Linked DNA regions of Homo sapiens: all the other regions are linked to region 1. Evidence: promoter capture Hi-C in 16 types of primary human blood cells and fetal thymus (Javierre and others, 2016). All regions are on one chromosome and are shown on one strand. The core of a region is centred on a gene start or on the middle of the fragment in contact, and the rest is flanking DNA. Distances in the headings are between cores, read along the strand shown.

Evidence for each region. Contacts are between HindIII fragments. The CHiCAGO score rates a contact against its expected background, and 5 or more counts as called.
Region 2: a contact is called between a fragment that was not itself captured here and the fragment with the promoter of MINDY4 in region 1, in 1 of 17 cell types (total CD4 T cells). The highest score is 6.4, in total CD4 T cells.
Region 3: a fragment that was not itself captured here is called in contact with the fragment with the promoter of MINDY4 in region 1 in 4 of 17 cell types (non-activated CD4 T cells, naive CD4 T cells, activated CD4 T cells and 1 more); the score reaches 8.4 in non-activated CD4 T cells.
Region 4: a contact is called between a fragment that was not itself captured here and the fragment with the promoter of MINDY4 in region 1, in 1 of 17 cell types (total CD4 T cells). The highest score is 5.7, in total CD4 T cells.

What each region holds. Positions count from the first base shown.
Region 1 is chr7:30,769,735-30,773,376 of GRCh38, forward strand. It overlaps MINDY4 (MINDY lysine 48 deubiquitinase 4), which reads left to right and starts at 1,683. Exons shown (of 18, transcript NM_032222.3): 1 at 1,683-1,822. The coding sequence starts at 1,760. All of the region lies in intron 3 of INMT-MINDY4 (INMT-MINDY4 readthrough (NMD candidate)), which reads left to right. RefSeq lists silencers at 1,564-1,613, 1,674-1,723, 2,094-2,243 and an enhancer at 1,799-2,093. The HindIII fragment of the contact is 5,437 bases long and covers 1-2,377 here.
Region 2 is chr7:30,012,280-30,015,921 of GRCh38, forward strand. It overlaps FKBP14 (FKBP prolyl isomerase 14), which reads right to left. Exons shown (of 4, transcript NM_017946.4): 4 at 1-2,614. The coding sequence ends at 2,456. All of the region lies in intron 2 of FKBP14-AS1 (FKBP14 antisense RNA 1), which reads left to right. Among named protein-coding and RNA genes, the nearest start is that of FKBP14, 13 kb to the right of the region's middle. The HindIII fragment of the contact is 662 bases long and covers 1,539-2,200 here.
Region 3 is chr7:30,029,025-30,032,666 of GRCh38, forward strand. The region is part of intron 1 of PLEKHA8 (pleckstrin homology domain containing A8); the gene reads left to right. Among named protein-coding and RNA genes, the nearest start is that of PLEKHA8, 2.4 kb to the left of the region's middle. RefSeq lists an enhancer at 1-109. The HindIII fragment of the contact is 441 bases long and covers 1,857-2,297 here.
Region 4 is chr7:30,131,291-30,134,932 of GRCh38, forward strand. It overlaps LOC105375216 (a long non-coding RNA gene), which reads right to left and starts at 3,424. Exons shown (of 3, transcript XR_927146.3): 1 at 3,314-3,424; 2 at 2,027-2,165; 3 at 1-193. RefSeq lists silencers at 3,594-3,642, 3,614-3,642. The HindIII fragment of the contact is 339 bases long and covers 1,535-1,873 here.

The DNA of each region.
Region 1 (3,642 bases), core at 433-2,932:
GCTTCCCAAGTGTGGTACATGTGCCAGTGGTGGTTGTAAGGTGATTTAGGTGAATGCATACCTTTCTGGTTTTGTGTTTGTTTTAATGTGTATTAGAGATTTAATAAGCACATAAAACCCAAGATCTTGTGGCTATTACTGCTTGGGAACACTTTCCTTTTAAAATAAATTGTAAAACATGTATGTGGATTTAAAGAAAATAATACATAAGTAACTGTATAGGGGTTAAGGGCTGAATTGTGTCTTTCAAAACTCCTGTGTTGGGCCGGGTGCGGTGGCTCACGCCTGTAATCCCAGCACTTTGGGAGGCCGAGGTGGGCGGACTGCCTGAGGTCAGGAGTTCAAGACCAGTCTGGCAACATGGTGAAACCCCGTCTCTACTAAAAGTACAAATATTAGCTGGGCACGGTGGTGGGCGCCTGAAATCCCAGCTACTCAGGAGGCTGAGGGAGGAGAATGGTTTGAATCCGGGAGGTGGTTGTTCACTTGGCAGTGAGCCGAGATTGCGCCACTGCATTCCAGCCCGGGCACCTGAGCGGGACTCTGTCTCAAAAAAAAAAAAAAAAAAAGAAAAAAAAATTCCCGTGTTGAAGTCCTAATGCCTGGTATTCCAGAATGTGACTGTGTTGGATAGGGTCTTTAAAGAGGTGATGAAGTGGAAATGCAGTCATTAGGGTGGACCCTATTCCAATACAACTGATGTCTTTATAAGAAGAGATTAGGACACAGGCACACACGGACGGCTAGCCACGTGAAGACACTGGGAGAAGGTGGCCATCTATAATAGAGGCCAGGGAGAGAGGCCTCAGGAGAAACCATCCAGCTGACACCTCGATCTTGGTCTGTAGCCCTCAGAACTGGGAGACAATAAATGTGTTGTTTAAGCCACATGGTCTGTGGTACTTTGTATGGCAGCCCAAGCAAAGGAATACAATAGGTAACATGCGGAAGTGGCAAAGATTGTGAAGGTGGAACCCAGGTGACTAAGTTCGGGGAAAATGTACTGGGCTTGGTTAGAAACCCAACTTTCCCAGTACCCAGCTGTGTGGGCCTCAGCAAAATCTTAGCCTTTCTGAATCTCAGTGTCCCGTTTTAAAGAATGGGGCCAACAGTAACTACCTAGCCAGGAAGTTGTAAGGATTAAAAGTGCAACCGTGAGTTAAGAGCTTGGTGATCAATAAATGGCAGTCTCATTACGGGAAAGCAGGCACCAAGGGGGCGAGGAACATCTCCTTTAATTTCGGTGCCCAAGAAGCAGAATGCTGGGCTTCCTTGCCCCCACCGTCAAGGCCCGCCAAGGTCAGTAGCGTTGGTGGCCCCAGAGGGGGCCGTGGTGCTGAGGGTGGACCTGAGGGGGTCACTTCCCTGTGAGTTTAGTCCTCCAGAAACAAGGAGGCAGGTATTCTTCCCATTTTATGTCTAGGAAAATGGAGCCTCGGAGCGGAGCGGTAATTTGTCCTAGGCCTCTCAGATGACCAGGGCCAGGGTCAGAGTGAGGCCCCGAGTCCGGAGCCGTGGACGGGGCCCTAGGCGACACCAGGGCGCCCTGACTGCGGCCTCCCACTCCGAGACGCGAGTTTGCGGGACGCTCCACCCCTTCCCTCCCGCCCCAGCCCGCCAGCCCCAGGGAAGGGGAGGAGTTCTTGCCGCGCCGACGCCGCCGTCGCCACGGCAACGCGGCCATACTGCGCCGGACAGACCCAGTTGCCTGGTGCTGCGGCCCGGCGTGGGCCTCGTGGGCAGAGCCAGAGCCAGAGCCATGGACAGCCTCTTCGTGGAGGAGGTGGCCGCCTCCTTGGTCAGGGAGTTCCTCAGCAGAAAGGTAACGGCTCGCCCCCTCCAAAGCCCAGGAAGTGGCTCTAATTTGGGGGGATCATCGGGGTCTCCCCTGAAGGCTTTGCAGCTTCTGGGAGGGCGCCCGTTCCCTACCTACTGCCTGCTCCAGAGATGCCCCAGAAGAGCGCCGCTTTCCCGGGACAGGGGAAACTACATTTCCCACGAGGCGTTTCTGCCGTCGTCACCGGGCGCTTCCGCAAGGCACGGTTTGGACCCCGTCCGCTGCCCTCCTGGGGCATCCGCGCTCCGGGGCGGCGGCAGCTGGGGAGGGGGCCTGGGGGCCGCGCCAAGCAATCCTAGCGCGGGCGCACAGCGGGCAGGCCTGCGCCCTAGCCTGGCTGCCGGCCTCCGTGCGCTACCCACGCAAGTCAGGGTCCCACTCGGAAAGAACTTCTCCCAGAGGGAACCCCAAAAGCCCAGAAAAGTTCTTGACGGTCAAACCCTTAGTCATTTTAGTCAACAGTGGGAATTCCAGTGGTTGCTTTAATTTTTGTAAGTTTTCCTATTGTCTTGTCCCAGGAGAGTTTTTGCAGTGTTCACAAGCTTGGAAGGTCCTTAGCTGTCATCTGGCCTCAGGGTGGAGATGGGGACCTCGGTGGGGAAGGAGCTCGCCGGGGGGTCTTGGGCGTGGTAGTGGAGGGGGACATACATTAGCTCATTCAGCACATGGTGACTGAGGGCTGCACTCTGTGTGTTTTGTCTGTCCTTGCAGTGTCATACTGGGCTAGGGCGATGGGTACTTGTCTTGTATGAAAACACATACACGTAATTTTTTGAATGGAGGAAAGGGGAAGGACTTTGAAGTCAGACGGAGACAATTCAAATATTTGCTACTAGTTTGCAGTGTGAACCTCAGTACTTTACTCACTGTCTCAATTTCGTTATCTGTAAAACAGGAAAGTAAGACCTACTCTTTGCAGATTTATAATGAGGATTAATATTAACATATGGGCAGCTTCCAAGCATTGGATCTGACATATAGATACAATGTGCACGTAGGTGTTCAACTTTATACCTCCTCCCACCCTCACTGTTTCTGACACCAAACAGGTGTCTCTGAAGTGCACCTGTTTGGAAAGTGTCTTTGTGTGTTTTTTATGATTTATTTTTATTTGAAAAAATTTTAAATGCGTTTGGCTTTGTCGCATCTGCCCTGTCTTTATGGCTAATTGACCTGCCATCACCTGTCCTGGCTGCATGTTGGATATCAATTGACACACCCTGGAAAGCTGACTGTTAACATCATTTCTTTTAAGTCTGGGTCACTGAAAAAAACTCTTAGAGAGGGCTTCCTCGTGTTCTTTCTTGAGTACAAATGAAATCCAGTGTCCTCACTGACATCCAAGCCTGCCCTGTAGCTTGACCCCAGCTTACCATCTCAATTTCATTTCTAGCCTCTCCCACATCCCTCCCCACCACCCCCCACTTGACATGGCCGAGTTCCCCTGGTCTCCTCTCCCTCGCATGTTTTATCTGGGCACACTAAGGCCCTAAGAGTAGAAAGGAGTTGCCCACAGTTACTCAGAAGGTCACAGTGAGCTGGGACTGCAGCCCAGGTATACTGCTTTCTCATCGCCTTCTGCTCTAGGGCAGAGACCACGTGCTCCCCACAGGGTTTTGCACAGGCAGTCATTGCACCCAGCAGTCGTAACCAAGAGAGCTGCCACCTTGGTGCCAGGTACCTAGAAGGTGCTGGTTTGTTGTCTCAGATCCTCGTAACAGTCCTGAAAGATAGGTATAAGTATTCCCTTTCACATAAGATTATTGTGAGACCAGGAGGCCAAGAAACTTGCCCAGGGTGAGCAG
Region 2 (3,642 bases), core at 620-3,119, 760 kb before region 1:
TCCAAATGTTTAGATGAGAACTGATACAAATTCACAGGTTTTTAAAAATGCTGCCTGAATAATCAAAACTCTTTTTACTTTTCTTGCCCTACTATAGATAGCATCAGTAATGTTTATACAGAGTAGCACCATCGGACAAACTACTTTCCCTTCTCCCATCATAGAGTATAAGGCTGTCTGTATTATGGCTTAAAACATTAGCAATGACTTAATAGTTTTCAACATACAGCTGATTTTGTTGGAGAAAGGTGTTACAGTATAGTCTTGTTAAGAACTTTATGTTTTACTGAGGAAAATGTCAACATATAATCAGTGAAAGTGGTCTACATATGATGTAATAATTGTTCATAATTCTTTTTAAACAACAAATGGGGGTAAATATGAATGAAAGAAGTAAAACACATCTGGAACCTCGCGTTGTTCAGGGTTTTTGAGGCAATTCAGAGCTAACTGCAAGATTATGCTATGAAACTGAAGCCATTTCTATATCATAGTGAGAATTCTAATGTACCAGAAACAGGCAGAAAGCCATCTTCAGAGAATGAAGACTCAAAGATAAACAACGGCACAGCAAACTGAAGAGAGAATTAGACCCCAGGGAAATTTTCACTTTTCATTAGTAGAGGGCAGTAGAAGACACTGAACTTGGGGACTGAATACTGGTTCTGCAGGTTAGTGCTGACCCTGGGCATAACAGTCAATCTTTTTGAATGACAATTTCCTCGTCTATAAATTAGGTACAGTGAGATCCACCAGCTTGTTTTATGACTCAGAGCCATGAAAAGCGAAGATAATAATGCACTTAATATCATTTTGTACACTATAAAGGGCTACTCTTAGAAAATGAAGATTTGATAACTTTAAAAAAAAGAATTAAAGATAAAAGCCAATTTAAAATAAAATTATATATATTTTTTTCTTTTTTAAAATCCAGGATAGGTATTTATTCAATAGTAGCTGCTGTAGGTCTGCTTCTTTTTTTTTTTTTGAGATGGAGTCTTGCTCTGTCACCCAGGCTGGAGTGCAGTGGCACAATCTTGGCTCACTGCAACCTCCGCCTCCCGGGTTCAAGCAAATCTCCTGTCTCAGCCTCCCGAGTAGCTGGGACTACAGGTGTGCACCACCACGCCTGGCTAATTTTTGTATTTTTAGTAGAGACAAGGTTTCACCATGTTGGCCAGGCTGGTCTTGAACTCCTGATCTCAAGTGATCCACCCTCCTTGGCCCCCAAAGTGCTGGGATTACAGGCATGAGCCACCACACCCAGCTAACTTCAGTTTTTGATGAGACAGAAATGGGAAAATGTAGACTGGTTTACTACTTTATCTTATGATACAATGTTATTGTAGTATAATATACTATAGACTACCCATTAAAGAACCAGGAAGGATATTCCGCTAGCCTTAAGAAGTAAATATTGAATATAAATATAACTTTCTACCTCATCTATAACATATTGATACATTTTATTACAAAGAAACTCACACATAAATGATTTGTCCTATTTATCATAATAGGCCACCAATCACTAGGAGCCAAGCTTCATCAGCTTAAGTCCTAGGTAGCATGTCTCAATGCATACATATTTATATGTTATTAACCGTGTTTCTTTTCTTTTTTTCGAGACAGAGTGTCCAGGCTGGAGGTGATCTCGGCTTACCGCAACCTCCGCCTCCGGGTTCAAGTGATTCTGCCGCCTCAGCCTTCCTGGGTAGCTGGGATTACAGGCACGCATCACCACGCCCGGCTACTTTTGTATTTTTAGTAGAGATAGGGTTTCTCCGTGTTGGTCAGGCTGGTCTCGAACTCCCAACCTCAGGTGATCCGCCCGCCTCAGCCTCCCAAAGTGCTGGGATTACAGGCATGAGCCACCATGCCTGGCTATTAACCTTGTTTCTAACTTCAGCATTGCACATCTCCTTAGTAAAGCAGTAGCCATTAACAAGTCAGGTCCAACAACCATTTTCCTCTGGTCCTCAAGCAGAGACTCAGAGCCAGTTACACATAAACTATTTCATTATAACATGAAAATAGCAAGCCTTGGGCTATTGCAAAAGGCTTTTCAAATGTTGACCTCTAACTTGGAGAAAATAGAGGGAAGCAGAAATATAGGGTGCTAATTTGTGCTATAACCTGGTCTCATGTCGTGGTATATTCCCAGTTGCAACATTTTAAATTTATAAGTGAGAAAGTAAAACAAAGCTTCATATCTGTGAAAGTGAAAAATTGTCCAGAAGTCTTCTATTCAAAGACCAATTAGCTTTTTCTTCCCAATAACTTATCAGAAAGAAATGGGTACTTAGAAACCTAAGGGGTTCTTTAAATAGGAGTCAGAAAAAATATATAAAAATAAAAAACAAAGCAAGAAAGAACATTGTATAAAAATAAAATGTTCTTTAAAGATGACTGCCCTCTCTTGAAAGATGAGTGCTATATTAAAAGGGTAGATGTATCTCTATAACTCATCGTGTTTATATGTAAATTCTCTGGCAGATATAAACCCATCTTTGTCTTCATCTTCTTTATCAAAAATATCCTCCACCAAAGCATCATGATGACTTTCATTCACCACCGCACCATGTTTTTCAAACTCCTTCTTTAAATATGCTTTAACCTACAAAATAACAGATCCCATTAATAACTTGGATTCATAAGATACCCACATTGAGCCAATCAATATCACAGACATGGACTGTTATTATATTTAGTTCATTAACTAAATATAATACCTTCTAAACAGCCATTTTATGACATAGTTTTAATGATAATTAAAAAATAATAGAAACTTTTTCCCTTAAAAAAACTGTTGCTAAACTGCTAAAGTGGAGACACAAAATATTGCTCAAAGGCAGGGCCAGGTGTGGTGGCTCATGCCTGTTATCCCAGCACTTTGGGAGGCCCAAGTGGGAAGATTGCTTGAGGTCAGGAGTTGGAGATCAGCCTGGCCGACATAATGAAAGCCCATCTCCACTAAAAATACAAAAAAAAGTTAGCCAGGCATGATGGCATGCGTCTGTAATCCCAGCTATTCAGGAGGCTGAGGCAGTTGAATCGCTTGAACCTGGAAGGCAGAGGTTGCAGTGAATCGAGATTGCGCTGCTGCCCTCCAGCCTGGGCAACAGAGTGAGACTCTGTCAAAAAAATAAAAAATTAAAAAATTAAAAATATATATATATATATAGCTCTCTCTATATATATATTGCTCAAAGGCAGAGATAAAGCTTATGTCATGTATACAATCCTCATATAGGGCTTATATTATTGGAGAATACCCAATGAGAGCATACTACTTGTTCTTAATCTGAATCTAAATACTAGGCATTTCTTTTCTTTTTTTAGACAGAATCTTTTTTTTTTTTTTTTTGAGACGGAGTCTCACTCTGTTGCCCAGGCTGGAGTGCAGTGGCGCAATCTCGGCTCACTGCAAGCTCCGCCTCCCGGGTTCACGCCATTCTCCTGCCTCAGCCTCCCGAGTAGCTGGGACTACAGGCGCCCGCCACCACGCCCAGCTAATTTTTTGTATTTTTAGTAGAGACGGCGTTTCACCGTGTTAGCCAGGATGGTCTCGATCTCCTGACCTCGTGATCTGCCCGCCTCGGCCTCCCAAAGTGCTGGGATTACAGGCGTGAGCCACCGCGCCCG
Region 3 (3,642 bases), core at 827-3,326, 740 kb before region 1:
CGCTTCAAGGAAGGCTACAAAGACTGAGATTTTGGGTGACTTGAAAGGCACGGTGCTCTTGATGTCAGCGGGAGGAAGGCGCAGACGCCCCGCCGTGGGGTTCTCTGGGAATCTCTTGAATTTTGGCGAAGGAACCGTACTCCCTTGGCTCGCAGCTAGGTTGGAAGGTTTCAAAAGAATGCCAGCAGTAACCTGGAATTCCACAGCGGAAAGATCCTTTATCAAAGTCCTCAGTGCAAACACTTTCCCTTTGTCACCTTCAGAGTCATCTGCGTGCACACCAGGGTGTCAAGAGTCCCAACTCCACAGTTTCAAAGCTCTGCACAAGGTTTTTTATTTTCTCGTTGAGCATTTCCTTTTGTTTTACAGACTCAGAAATTACCGTTAAATGAATGCAAATATTTGCAACTTTCTTGCCGTGCCTTACAGATTGGCTTTAAAATAGTCCCCGCCCTTTTTTTCTAGTTTGTGGAGGTAAAAGCTTCATATCTTGAGAAGGTTGTAACTGTTCTACAGCTGTGAAAATTATTCAGAACGATCATTTTTGTCATGTGTGCAACTAGTATTTAATACAAGCCTACTATATGCTGGAAACTGTGCTAGCCACTTTTTTGGAAGTAAACTTTTTATCACAGAAAATGAATTAGGTCTTTAAAATTTTAAAGGCAGTGTGTTTGAAAGCAGAAATGTTCCCAGTATCCCTTAGAGTGGGTGAGAGACGTTTTCTTTCTTTTGTGGGATAGTTTTTAAAAGGTTGTAGTATGGTAATGCGCCGGGTGTTTTAAGAATGGGTGTGTGTGGGAGGATCAGTTGGCATACATAGTAACTTCGAGGAGGTCACACAGCACAGCCAAAGGTGCCCCTATTGGGCGTACCCAGAATCTCTTCCCTTTGCTTAGTGTAATTAGCAGTGAGTTCACCTGTTTATTTTTTTTCTGTAATCATTAATAGAGACTAAATGAGAAGAGGTTTTTCTTGTTTGCGTCAAGGACCTTCAGTGATGTCTGCAATTAGATTAGATGAGAATAACTCAAAGCTAGGCTTTGGTTTGGTGGATGACAGAGGCTGATCAACACTGCTAACCTAAGGGGAGGAGGCTCGACCTGGCAGTTTTCCTTCTGAGGTCTCTCTAAGCTCTCAGATGCATATACTTGAGTAAAATTTAGTTCCTGATCCTTCACTCCTTTCCATTACACACACTTTTTTTCATTCATCTTCAACATTCTTCTTTTTTTCCCATTCTTCCCCATCCCCAACTTTTTTTGTTGTTTTGTGGGGTTTTTTCCCCCTCTTTTCCTTCTCCTTTCTATATAGAAAGTTTAGTCTCTTGATACAGTAACTATTTCCTGGTAGTGAAATGCTTTTGCTGTTGTTGTTGCTGACTGTCCTTGTGTATCCTTCAATAAAGCAGAACTCTCTAGAAGGATCTTTTGGAATCTTTGTTATTTGATTCCTATCTGTTCTGTTGGAAAAGAGTCTACTTTTTTCTTCCCAAAGTAAGAGAAGTTAATGCTGTGAGTGGTGCTAGGGTGGAAACCCTGAAGAAGAGGGCACTGGAGCCATTGCCAGAGACAGCTGTCTCTACGTGATGCTGCTTGTTCCCTTAGCCCACGTGCCCCGTCCTTGTAGGCATACTGTTCATAGAAGCCCATCACACCACTGGGTATTTTCCAGATATACATAGAATGATGGTTCGGCATATTCTCTCCTTTTAGGAGATAAATTTACTTGGGAAAGAAGTGGTAATAGCCTAGGAGGATCACATGCATTCTTGTTTCCTCCACCCTCCACTTTTCTACTTGTTCTTCGGAAGTGAGCATGTTGTGTTAGTGACAAGTTACTTTTTCTTTTTCTGAAGCTTGTTTTAAAAAGTAACTTTTTTTTTCTTGTAGGTTTGCACATACTAACTTTAAAATACATACAATCCCAATCCAAGTTTTTGTTCATTCTGAATTTTTCTCCAAAGGTAGTACGTAACCCATGCCTCTGTATGGTTTGTGTATTTGTCATGCTGACAGCTTGATATGGGATGCCTTGTGTCAAATTTGAGTGAAGTTAGGAAATCAGTTTATCACTTGGTCTTTTGAATCCTTAGGGGATGTTGTTAATTTCATTTACCATCTACTGTGCTAGGCACAGGGGAAGCAATGTTGAACAAAGCCCATGCCCTTCTTGAGCCTACAGTCTGGTGGGGGAAGAAAGATATTTATTGGTTAAGTGGTTAGAACCATGTTTCATTGTGTGTGATTGATTGGGGAGGAGGGAGGGCAGAGAGGCTAGTACGGGTTGTTAGAGAAAGCTTCTTTGAGGAAAAATTTAAGCAGAGTCTGAAGGATAAATCAAGCTGTTAATAGTTCGCTGGAGAGGCCAAGGCAGAGGTGTAGTTAGAGGAAATAAAGAAGAACTTTTCAGGCACAGGGAATGCCAGTGTCAAGGCCCCAAAGCAGAATGGAGACGTGCGAGTTTGAGGAAAGGAAAGAGGACCCATCTGGCTGAGAGCTGAGGAGAGTGAGGCTCCAACAAAGATGCAGGGGTGTGCGGGAGGCTAGATATTTCAGGGCCTCATAGGCTGGTTTAAACACTGTGATGTGATTGTGTGTGTGCATGTGGGTACATGCATGCATGCGTCTGTGAGAGAGAAATGATGAGATTGTTTAAAAGCTTACTCTGGCTTTAGCGTAGCGTAGAACATTTTCTGGTTACATCTTTATATCTCTCCTGCTGCATTTATTGTACTTCACTAAATACTATGTATTATTATTTTGTGAGCTTCTTTTGCCTCTTGAATTTTAAATCGATAGGTATTAATTACTGAAAGTTAGAATTCATCAAGCCCTGATAATAGCGTCTGAGGTTTATGTGAGTGTATTTCTAGAAGAGAAAAGAAGTCTCTTCCCTTAAATGCTAAGCGTATTCAGGTACTCTATCCTCCTTCAATGAAAAATACAAAAAAAAAAAAGTTTACATGTATTTTCGTTTACAGTCTGGTTTCATCCTGCCTTTTGGACATTCCGGGATTTAGTGCCAGTACCTTTCTTTAGATGTTAGAAGATTAAACTTGGGATGAAGAGAGTAAATTAAAAACATGTTACAGATTCCCACATTGTGTGAGACATACTTCTAAAGAAGCACTGTGTTTGTTATTTGTGTCTTTCAAGACCTAAAATTTAGTCAAGGAGTATTATACATGTAGGGCTACACATTAATACTCTAGAACGCTGGTTCAGGAGTCAGAGAGACCTGAAGCCTGGCAAACAGCCCTATTACTGCCAACTGCAGGGTCACTTTAGCATCCTGAGCCTTAGTATCTTCCTCCATTTAAAATAATGGGATTTACTAGTTTATAATTGTAAGAACTGTTAAAAATTTATTAGTACTTACAATGTGCCAAGCACTTTTCTAAACATTTTACATGGATTAACTCAGTCTTTGCAGCAATTTCAAAAAACAGTTGCCTTTATTATGCCCATTTTCCAGATGAAGACACTGAGATATAGAGACGTGGGTTTGCTGAAGGTCACACAGCCACTTATTAAGTGGCTTCAGAGTCAGTGCTCCATTAGACAATACTTTTAAAGGTCCTTCTTGCTTGATCATTATGTAATTCTAGCTGATTCATAATGTACCTATATTTAAAGTATG
Region 4 (3,642 bases), core at 454-2,953, 640 kb before region 1:
AAAGCCATGGAGAACTTCAAAACAGAGATGGGCAGAAGAGTCAGCATTAGCAGGACAGTCTAGGGTGGCCTTTGCATTCCATACTGAGCTCCTGATGTCCTAGCCAGTGGGGTTTGAATATGTCTCCTCTTCTTGCCAACACACATCTCCCAAAGGCAAATGGTGATTTTCAGAGACAGCAAAGTCCAGATTTCTATAAATGAACAGAAACGTTCCTTAAATACAATGAAGACTGTACAACTCTGCCTACTGGTGGGGATAAGTTTTTTTGTCTGTTTGTTTTGTTTTTTGAGATAGGGTTTCCCTCTGTCACCTAGGCTGGAGGGCAGTGGTGTGATCATGGCTCACTGCAGCCTCGACTTCGAGGGCTCAAGGGATTCTCCCACCTCAGCCTCCCAAGTAGCTGGGACTACAGGCACATGCCACCATGCCCAGCTAATTTTTGTATTTTTAGTAGAGACAGGTTTTCACCATGTTGCCCAGGCTGGTCTCAAACTCCTGGGCTCGGTGATCCACCCACCTTGGCCTCCCAAAGTGGTGGGATTACAGGTGTGAGCCACCACGCCTGGCTGGGGAGAAGTTTTAATTTTCCTTCTACTTCCAAACCATGGCCAAAGGCTATGGGAACACAAGAAAGGGGGTATGGGTAGCCCTGGTGTTTCCTCACCTACTGGCTGCACAAAACACCTGGCTAGAGTTCTGAAATGACCACTGCCCTGTGCATGAGGCCTAAATACACCCCTACAACCTGGGATGCCTCACAGGACTCTCCCCAAACAGGAGGGAGGCAGGGCAAAGGTTTATGATCTTCTTAGCTAAGCAACTGGTGGCTTTACCAGTTGTTCTAAGGAAACAAAATTTCAAGCAACTTCTGCAGATGAACTTTCCAGGATGAATTTCAGCTGCTTTATGTGCATACCCTTTCCACTAGTTAGTAAAAATGACCAAAACACGACTGTTGCAAGACTTTTCTCTCTAAATCTGTGGTTCTCAAGTAGGGGTAATTTTGCACTCAGGGGACATTTGGCAATGTCTGGAGAAATTTTTGCTTGTCACAGTGGAGAGAGGGGAGGGTAGAGGGAGATGCTACAGGCATCCAGTGGGTGGAGGCCAGGGAATGTGGCTAAAAATCCTGCAATGTGCAGGACAGCCTCCAACAACAAAGAATTTTTGGCTTCAAATATCAATAGTGCTGCTGCTGAGAAACCCTGCTCTAAAGACTTGGAAAAAAAAATGAGATTTAGGTTCATCTGTGACCAATATTACCAGTCATATCACTCCTGAATTTCACTTTAAAAATTCATTAGCTGATCTTCTTACACATCATCCCTAAGAAGTAGATTAAGAGTAATAATGGCATTTACTGAGTTCTTACTATGTGCTAGGTTCTGGGATAAGGACTTTATATACTTTATCTCACTGTTGTCCCTGTTTTCAGAAAAGAAAACTGAGCTCCGAGCAATGAAGGAAGTTGCAGATGCACATAAAACTTAAAATGGCAGAGGGAGGAATCAATGCAGACATGGAGTTCTGAAGCTTTTGCTGTTGCTCTCAGTGCATTTCTAAGGAAACCCAACGGTATCCATTTCATTGACCAATTGCTTTGTACCCAAAATTTTATTTTTCATAAGAGTTTTTCATTTTCTGACAAAAACTATTTGTTAAATAAACATAACTTCATAATTCTGATCACATCACTTGGAGCAAATTTGACTGATACATTTTAAAACACATGGATTAAAAAAAAAACTCCTTCTTTCCCGAAAAAGGAAAAAAGGAATGTATTTTTCATATTTTCATCTCCAATTTAAGGAATTCATTTTTGGAACACATATTATGCTTTAAATGGTGGTGCCAGGTAAAACTGCAAGGAAGCTTGTGCTATCTGGAGACACCCATACTTTTTTTTTTTAAGGACCATTTTGTAACTTTACAACAGCATATTGCATTTTTATATTCATGTGCCTGTCTCCTTCATTGTCCTGTGTATTAGTTTTCTACTGCTGCATGAAGAATTTAAACAGACCTAACAGCTTAAAACAACACCCATTTAATAGCCCACAGTTCTGAAAGTCGGAAGTCCCAGCACAGCCATGGCATCACTGGGTTCTCGCTCAGGTTCTGCGAAGGCTGCAATCATGGTAATAGTCAGGCTCAGTTCTTGTCTGGAAAAGACAACAAGTTTGAGAAAAAAATCTGCTTTTCAAGCTCATTCGGGTTGTTGGCAGAATTCAGTTCCTTGCAACATTGGCCTAGGCAAATAATTTATGACTAAAACCCCAAAGGAAGTGCAACAAAAACAAGAATAGACAAATGGGCCTTAATTAAACTAAAAAGCTTCTGCACAGTAAAAGAAACAATCAACAGAGTAAATAGACAACCTACAGAATGAGAGAAAATATTTGCAAACTACGCATCTGACAAAGGACTAATATCCAGAATCTACAAGGAACTCAAACAACTCAACAAGAAAAAAAAAAAACCCATTAAAAAGTGGGCAAAGGACATGAACAGATATTTCTCAAAAAAGACATACAAGTGGCCAACGAACATATGAAAAAATGCTCAACATCCACTAATTATCAGAGAAATGCACATTAAAACCACAATGAGATACAATCTCACACCAGTCAAAATGGCTATGATTAAAAAGTCAAAAAACAGCAGATGTTGGTGAGGGTGCAGAGAAAAGGAAACATATATACGTGTTGGTGGGAATGTAAATTCGTGCACAGTGCCTGGTTCAGAAGACACACTTTACAGAAAAAAGCTGGCTGAATGTTTATAACGTGTCTGTGTTTGTAGTGTTCAAGTCCTGAGGGCGAGGACCCTAGTGCATTTTCTGCAATCCAGTAATGCCTGTCCAGTATATGGCAGCCAGTGAGCACTCAACAGGTGCAATCGTTGGGCCACACACTCTTGTTTTAAAATGTGCTTTATCCTCTTGACCTTTTTAGGTTATGCAATGTGAATTCAAGCTGAATAATACTGAAGCCAGTCTTATGAGGCTCATTTCTAAGAAATATTCAGCTTTACGTAACGCAAATAAAAAATCACACACGCCCTTTGCAAGTGAACATTCATATTAGTGTCTGATAAATGCATTAAGAAGACACATTCCCTTAAATCAATCGGAGAACAGAACTTTGGTTTCTGCAAAAAGAAAAGCTCCCTTTTCCTTAGATTTTCTCAGCTCCTCCACTGCTAGCCCCAGACAAGGTCCAAGTTATCTGCAGTTCTATGGCCTCCCTTGCATTTAAATCGCATTTGGGCAAACGCTTCCTGGGCTTTCTAACTCCACAGAAACGCTAACCAGGTATTGGGCGCTCGCACCGCTTCCAGGTAACCCGCGGAGCTGCGGATTCCAGGCTCGCGCTGTGACGTCACCGGGCTCGCAAGCCGCGGCGCGGTCTCAGGCTCCGGTGATTGGCTGGGGCCCATGACGTCACGGCCCGGGGCGGCACCGCGATGGCCAGGGCCCCGGGATGCTCCGGGTTTGTTTAAAAATAAAGGGGGGGCGGGAGCGCCCAGGAAAATCCGGGCGCCCGCGGGGGTGCCGGCCGCTCCTCCCGCCGCCCCGCGTCCCGGCCCGGCCGCGCCAACCCCCACGGCGGCCCGCAAGGGGGCGGGGGGAGGCGGGGC